Regions from separate parts of the Homo sapiens genome. Here all the other regions are linked to region 3. The links are contacts of gene promoters, found by promoter capture Hi-C in human tissues and cell types (Jung and others, 2019). All regions are on one chromosome and are shown on one strand. The core of a region is centred on a gene start or on the middle of the fragment in contact, and the rest is flanking DNA. Distances in the headings are between cores, read along the strand shown. Region 1 overlaps GRIK4 (glutamate ionotropic receptor kainate type subunit 4). Region 2 has its middle 75 kb from the start of SC5D. Region 3 holds the start of TECTA (tectorin alpha).

Region 1 (2,761 bases), core at 193-2,692, 110 kb before region 3:
GGTTTTTTAAAAAAACTCGTTTTTATGAGCAGGCTATCTTGATCAATAGCAAACTTTTTTTAATGGATTAGTGAAATAAATGTCCCCATGCATCATTTATAGTCTGTTTCTTTCTCCGTGTGGAATCAAGATAAGACTGCCAGCACTAGACGGTTTCTGTTAGCTGCTGAGACCAGGGCCTCACCTTGCTCAAGCTAGTGGGTGAATTTGCAACCAGCTAATACTCTTCCTTGGTTTGTTTCCACTTTTTATCTGTTGGTTGTTGGCTTTCTTTTCCATTCTGTATTTTCTATCTGACTCTGTATACTGTATAAAGCAGTTTTTTCTTGTCTGTTTATCTTTCTTCAACTGGAATATTTACAATAAAACAGAAACAAATCCTGAAATGTTAGTGATGGATGACAGCTGTTTGGGTTTAGAAAGTATGGTTCAGTGTGTCTAATATCCAGGTACTAGACTTGAAAAGCAAATAAAATCATAAACCCACTTTTTGTCTTCCCCTCCACCTGCCCTCTCTGTCTCCTTCTCTCCACCTCCCTCTCTACTCCCCCACCCGCTTTGGCTCTTTGTTCAGATCCCAGAAAAGTCTAGGTGGCTTCTTTCAATTTTTAGTCCTAGGAGCCTGAGCCAATCCACCCCCCCATCCCCAAAAGCGGATACATATGTTAATGAAGTTCAGGATTCCTAGGGTTTTGTCTTCCTAAATGCACTTTCACAGAATAGTCATCTATTGATACCTAGGGTAACTCTAGTCAGATATCACCCCAGATTCCACTGGGAGCTTGAAGATTACATCAATTAAAATATAATACTTTGCTTTATTTCTTTTAATTGCTTTGCAGGGCCCCAACCGTCACAAGATCTCACCTCAGAAACCAGGTAGAGTGTAAGTTGAGCACGGAGAGGGCCGAAAATCTTTTGGCTTCCTCTAATCCACTGCTCATATGAGAATATTCTTCCTGGGAACTTGCCAGCCAGCTCTCTTATTGGTTAGGTGAGACTGAAATATCATGATAACCAATCCACCTGGGGCCACTCTGTGAAAGTTTCTTAGTTTTGGATTCCAAGGAGCTTAATTTTCTTTTGGAATCCAAGGGGGAACTTCCCCATGTTGTAGGAGTCAAGTACACAAGGCCAGAAAAGGGCTGGGGCATTTCAGCAACACCAGATTGGTGGTTTGAGAGAAGCTTGAGAGACTCATTTGTGGCCCTCCCACCAATGGGGTGTTCACAGCAAGGTAAAACAGTCTGGAAATGATAAGGGAGATTTGAGTGCCTGACTAGTTGTCAGCTCTCTCGGGGTAATAACGAAGAGGCCTGTTTGGAAAATTCAGAGAAGGAATCCTTTCATAAAGATTTTGCTTATAGCTAGTGCTTCCTATGGGGCCTTCTCAAAGAGAAATTAAAGCACCATGAGTAATTCCTTTGCCTTTCGGTGAATGGTGACTTTCTCCCCACAGGCAGGTCCCCACAGTGGCCAAACAGAGAGTGCCCTCAGGAACTGACAACCTGCCCATCCTAAGGTTTGCCTCAAAGGCTGGGGATAGCATGCTCTCCTAAGACTTTTCCCATAGGGGAAAAAGTTGTTACTGGGTGTGGCTTCCAAAGGAAAAAAAAAAACTCCGAATTTTAGAGCCTACATGGTCAACAAGCTTCTTGTAATTTGAGGGCAATCAAGCAAGAGAAGTTCCGCCACTACCGTAAGAACATTATCATTCAAGTTTTATGAATTTCATACCAATTTCCAAATCTGGAGAATGAATTAAACAAATACGAATGTTACCATTCAACAAACAGCAGAACTAATGCTGAGATCAAGAAAGAAAGAAGTCTATGAAGGCAACGAAGTAAAAAATAAGCTCTCTACCAGAAGTGGCAGAAAATTGAGGCCCCAAGAAGGGTCATAAAAAAATTGAGCATATACTATAGCTGTAGGTTAACTAAGCATATGCATATAAATATTTCACTCACCAGGATTTACCGAAGCATGTCAGTGCATTGTGACTGATGGTGTACCTACTGGGGACTTGATCCTATTTACAAGTTAGACTAGATACAGATGATGGATGACAAATCCCTCCATCATCTGTATCTAGGGCAAAAGATCCTCCTGTAGAAAATTAGCTGAAGATCCTGCCCATTCTTCAGTATGCCTTGTGACCAATCAAGTGTTGTCTCTTGGTTGTCAGGGAACACTGGCACTTTTCCATAGATTGGTGAGTGACCTGGAGAGGGTATTTACCTAGCACCCAGCACCACATTAGATCTTGCCAGAAATGAGACATAGAAGCAGTGATCTATACTCTGCTTGAAGGAAAAAACTAACTTTACCTGTAAGAAACTGAAAAAAAAAATCACACAAAATATAACAATAAAAGTGCTACAGTGTGTGGTTTGGAATATTAACCATGTAGAAATTCAGAGGAGCTCAAGATTCTAAGTAGTTAAAAGAGCAAAGGAAGGCTGGGTGGAGGAAGCAGGACTGTTTGTGTGTTTGGGTTGTTAATTAATTAATTTATTTTTTTGATGTCTGGGAAATAAGATCTTGCTCATTGCCCTTGGAGTGAAATATGGTTAATTCATGTTGATGAATTCAGCACCCCTCTGATGAAAGATAGTTTGTTGTAGCTGTTGTTTTGTTTTCACCCAGTTCGTCCCTTTTTGAGGAATTCTGGCTCTCAAACGATGCTTCTTCCTGTTTGCTGCCAACACTAGAGATTCTCACCAATGTCTCATCCCTTGGCTTCTTTAAGTTGTATTAG
Region 2 (2,700 bases), core at 101-2,600, 120 kb after region 3:
ATTATGATCTTGAAAAAATCCACACTTGCATGTTTATTTTAGCATTATTCATAATAGTTAAGATATGGACACAACCTAAATGTCCCTCAATGGATTAATGAATAAAGAAAATGTGGAACTACACATGCAAATATGCACACACACAAACACACACACACATATATACACAGAGAAATATTTTTCAGCTTAAAAAAAATCTTGGGTGTGGAGGGAGACAAATGCAAATATGTTAGGCAAGTAGTGCAAAGTTTCTGTTATGTGGGATGAATATGTTCTGGACATCTAATGTACAGCAATGTGAGTACAATTAACAATACTTTATTGTATACTTAAAATTTACTAAGGGTAGATTGAAAATAAAAGTAATAATGGAAGACATAAACAAATGGAAAAACACTCCATGCTCATGGATTGAAAGAATCAATATTGTTAAAATATCCATACTGCTCAAAGCAATATATAGATTCAATGCAATCTCTATTAAATCTCAACATCATGCTTCACAGAATTAGAAAAAACAATTCCAAAGTTCTTATGGAACCAAAAAAGGGCCCAAATAACCAAAGCAATCCTAAGCAAAAAGAACAAAGCTGGAGGCATCACATTACCTGACTTCAAGCTATACTACAAGGCTACAGTAACAAAAATAGCATGGTACTGGTACAAAAATAGACACATGGATCAATGGAGACTCTTGAAATAAAACCACACATCTACAACCAAACGATATTTGACAACATGGGCAAAAATAAAGAAATGGGAAAGGACACTCTATTCAATAAACAGTACTGGGAAAACTGGCTAACCATATGCAAAAGAATGAAACTTGACCTCTTTATACAAAAAAAATTACTCAAGATGGACTAAAGACTTAAATGTAAGACCTCAAATTATAAAAATTCTAGAAGAAAACCTAGGAAATACTCTTCTGGACATTTGCCTAGGCAAATAATTTATGACTAAGTCCTCAAAAGTAAATGCAACAAAATCAAAAATTGATAAAGAGACCTAATTAAACTAAAGCACTTCTGCACAGGAAAAAAAAAAAAAGCAACCTATCAACGTAGGAAACAGATAATCTACAGAGTGGGTGAAAATATTTGCAAACTACGCATCCAACAAATGACTAATATCCAGAATCTACAAGGAACTTAAACAAATTAACAAGAAAAAAAATAACCCATTTAAAAGCAGGCAAAAGACAAAAACAGGCACTTGTCAAAGGAAGACATACAAACAGCCAATAAACATATGAAACAATGGTCATTATAACTAATCATCAAAGAATGCAAATCAAAACCAAAATATGATATCATCTCACACCACTCAGAATGGTTATTATTAAAAAAGTAAAAAAAAAAAAACACAAATTAACAGGGGTTGAGAGGTTGTGGAGAAAACAGAATGCTTATACACTGTTGGTGGGACTGTAAATTAGTTCGGCCCTTATGGAAAACAGTTTGGAGATTTCTCAAAGAACTAAAAATAGAATTACCATTCAACCCAGCAATCCCATTACTGGGTATATACCCCCAGAAAATAAATCTTTCTAATAAGAAGATGTCTGTGCTTGCATGTTCACTGCAGCACTATTTGCAATAGCAAAGACATGGAATCAACTTTGGCGGCCATCAGTGGTAGACTGGATGAAGAAAATGTGGTACATACACGCCATGGAATACTATGCTTCCACAGGAGAAAGTGAAATCATGCCCTTTGCAGCAACATGGATGCAATCAGAGGCCATTATCCTAAGTGAATCGACACAGAAACAGAATACCAAATACTGCATGTTCTCACTTATAATTGGAAGCTAATCACTGGGTACACATGGACATATAGATGGGAATGATAGACATCCAGGACTCCAAAAGAGGGGAAGGAGAGAGGGAGGGCTGAATAACTACCTGTCACATACTATGTTCACTATCTGGGTGACAGTTTCAGTTGAAGCCTAAACCTCAGCATCACACAATATATCCATGTTAGTAACCTGAACATGTACCCCCTAAATCTAAAATATTAAAAAAAAATTTTTTAAACATAGAAAATCAAAGCTTAAAAAAAGACTATAAAGATGACATCAGTGAAAATGACAGAGTAAGGACCCCCCCAAAACTCTATCCTCCATAAAAGCAATGAGCACACTGGCAAAATTGTCAGAGTCAACTTTTTCAGAATTTTAGAAATTAATCAAAGGCTTGAAGCCATCAGGGAGCATTTTTTTTTTTCAAGAAAAAATGGTTGAATCTTGGTAAGAACAATGAGCCTCATGACATTCCAATTGCCATTTCCCTTCCCAGTTTCTGGCTATAGGGTAGCCACAAAAATCAATGGCCCACAATAATGGTTAAAACCAGTAGCCTGACAGCCACTGGAGGTAGCAGAAAGGGGCTAGTGTTCCTTCAAAGCACAATAGGATAACCAAAAAGCTGGAGGAAAAAGGCAAGGTGTGAAATGTCTACATGGGGCTTAAAAATGCTCTGACATATTCCTGGGAATCTAGAAGGCCACACAGAAGCAAAGGATTGTGCACAAGCCCAGAGCTCTGCAAGTGCTCAGGAAAGATCTGAGCGAGTGCTAAGTTCTTACCTCTGGCTCGCCCCATGCAAGTAAGAAGTGAAGCCAAAATAGAGCAGAGTACCTGGTTGAGCATTGAAGGCATGCCCTAACACACACAGAGCCCTCTTGCAAAGAGGC
Region 3 (2,700 bases), core at 113-2,612:
ACCAGCAGTTAATTAAAACACAGCCAGCGATTTTGCTTCAAGACATTTAGGTTGGCTACTGGACTAAAACCTAAGGCTGGACAAAGAGAATCCTTCTGTAATGAGTCTTTGATTTGAACTTAATTTTATTTTAAATAGGCACCCAAGAAACTAGCTTTTCTGTTATATAAATATACGCCATTCTAAGCACTCCTAGAATCCAAAGAAAAACAAATAAATGTGAGTCATTTGGAAAGAAGCAGTCATTTAACATCTGTAAGTAAATATGTGTGGAGGATTCATAATACCAGTGAGAGAATAAACAATGTGGGAAACCTACTGAATTATCACAGGTTTTTGGAAAAACACGGAGTAATTTAAACTAAAAAAATTTAGCTCGCCAAGCACTCTTGTCCATTTTAAGACAACATGCTTAAACCCAGAATTATATTTCTTTTGTACAGTTGGCATTTAAATGTCTGGTCAGAGAAAATTTGCAGTAATTTTTAAATTCCCATTGATGTGCAGAAGAGTTTTTTTTTCCTGCTACAGTCAAGTTACTTCTTTCTTAATAAATTCCATTTAAACATTTTGAATAGTAGATTTAGCTTATGCCTTAGCCAGTTTTGCTCATTCCACATCTACTGGATGCTTGGAAGCATCTAACCGAGCACGTTTTCCTCTTATTCACATGCCTTTTAAACTATTTACTTACTGCAAATTTTTTATCAGAAGGGGTTTATCTCCCCCCTCTGCCTCCAGTGACCCTCACTGGGTGTTAGGGAAGGTTTCCAGGCCACAGTTTGAGATTTCCCTTGTGGAAGATCGTGTCTAGCGCTAGGTCCCTTGTTAGATTTTGCCTGGAAAGTGCCCTGTCCTATCTCCTGCAGAGCGGTGCATCAGAGAGAAAAGAGAGGGCATAAAACCTAAAAAGTTTGGAAATTTTCTTTAAATACTTCATGCATACCTGTGAAAAAATAGAGTAGAGCCTATCTGTGGCGACTGTTGAAAACCAGAGAAACAAAAAAAGACTTTAATAGAAAACCAACTTCATTTAAATGTTGGAGGCAGCTGCTTTGTTTGGAGTTTTAATCCCATGCTGGTGGATGCTAATTCTGTAACATTATACAGTTGCCTTCTTTTGGGTACAAAGGTAGAAGGGGGGTTTTCTTTTGTGTTTTTCAGTGCAAAGTGATTCTGATCAGAAAGGCCCAAGGTTTCAGCTCCAAGTACCTGACATTTCCATCTGAATCTACTTTTTTTTTCAAAGGGGAAAAAAAAAGGTCTAGTTTTTCAGGAAAAGAACCTCTCTACGCAATCCTGAAACTGATCTTTAGATTTACTTTTCCTTAATCAATAGAAAAAAACTTGATTGCAGCTCAACACTTACCTGTCTCTAGTGCAGGACTAACTTAATTTTTGGTTTTAAGAGTACGAGATTCAGACATTATTTCAGGAATCAGAAATTATTGGCAACAAGTTGAGGAGAACTGACATGAATTCTTGTTTTACCTAATTTTTTCTGGCTTACCAAGATTTGGCTTAATATTTCTGACTCAGTTCCTCCAGCCTCTACAGAACAGGTTAGTGACATTTTTCATAAATACAAATATCTAAATGAATCCTCCTTACTTCTCTCTGAACCGGTTCCCTAAGGGCTCTAGTCTTAAACTTGCACGGCATCTTCTCCATTAAAGCTGTGTGTGATCTCTGCTAAACCTTTGTACCCTTTCCAGCAAAACTGTCTAATATTTAATATGTGCTTGAAATTACAACATATATACTTGACAACTAAAGATTTGCAATAAAACTCTCACAGGATAAATTCATTGCCTTTCCCGTGAAAGTTTGGCTGAAGAATTGTGATAACTTCAAATGATAAGAGGAAGGTTTTTCTTTTTTAAGAATACTGTCAGGAGGAGACTTCATGGTCTAGCCACACGCTTGGGTGATGTCTAACTTGAGCTTGCGTCCGTGTTCTCATCGCAGCTTTGCAGAGTGACACAGACAAAACATGCTCCTGATGGAGGGTAAAGCCACCATGCAACCGATTGTAAACTAACACGAAAACAAGTTTCTCTTTGCTGTGTTCCTTCTTTAATTAACTTGCTGGAACTAATTGGTTGCTTGTGCGCTGGATTCTATTTTTATTGTGATTCCAACTCTGGATTGGTCCTTTTTTATTACTAATGTTTCTATCATTCATTTCACTGTGGGAAGTCAGTGAACAGAGTAGACTGGCCCTGAATCTGGTCAATACTTCAAAATGATGGATCGGCTCCATTCTATGGAGAAGGTGATGGCAGACTCTAAATTCTCCTAGCTGTAGAACACATTGTGTTTTAACCAACTTTTGTTTGATTCTGATGGAAAGCTGTAGTGAAAATTAGGAAATCCAGGTCTCACTGGGGTGTGGTTTCTGCTGCAGAGACACAACCCGGGACCTGCATGCATCTTTAGCGTTGGGTCCTAGTTTTCAGCGCTTTATTTGATGCAGAGGGGATACCTTTCCTTTACGCATACCACTCTCACTGATCCTAAATAATTACTTGACAGTTTGAATGATCTCATTACACTTCCAGACTGGCTTCTTCTGGGCATCTAATTTGTTCATGAAGTGTTGAACTTCGGAGGACCTGCCAGCATTCAGGGGATTTCAGCCCGACTCAGCACTGTTGATGTTGTTATGTGAATTTGTTCTATGACGGTTTTGATGGTCTT

Evidence for each region. The method cuts DNA at HindIII sites, captures the fragments that hold promoters and counts their contacts. A contact is called where the count stands out against the background at its distance.
Region 1: a fragment that was not itself captured here is called in contact with the fragment with the promoter of TECTA in region 3 in 2 of the 25 tissues and cell types used here (hippocampus and spleen).
Region 2: a contact is called between a fragment that was not itself captured here and the fragment with the promoter of TECTA in region 3, in 2 of the 25 tissues and cell types used here (H1 embryonic stem cells and mesendoderm cells).

What each region holds. Positions count from the first base shown.
Region 1 is chr11:120,988,420-120,991,180 of GRCh38, forward strand. It overlaps GRIK4 (glutamate ionotropic receptor kainate type subunit 4), which reads left to right. Exons shown (of 21, transcript NM_014619.5): 21 at 1-487. Among named protein-coding and RNA genes, the nearest start is that of TBCEL, 34 kb to the right of the region's middle. The HindIII fragment of the contact is 4,948 bases long and covers 1-2,761 here.
Region 2 is chr11:121,216,388-121,219,087 of GRCh38, forward strand. No RefSeq gene overlaps it. Among named protein-coding and RNA genes, the nearest start is that of SC5D, 75 kb to the right of the region's middle. The HindIII fragment of the contact is 8,183 bases long and covers 1-2,700 here.
Region 3 is chr11:121,099,881-121,102,580 of GRCh38, forward strand. It overlaps TECTA (tectorin alpha), which reads left to right and starts at 1,363. Exons shown (of 24, transcript NM_005422.4): 1 at 1,363-1,562. The region is part of intron 7 of TBCEL-TECTA (TBCEL-TECTA readthrough); the gene reads left to right. The HindIII fragment of the contact is 17,013 bases long and covers 1-2,700 here.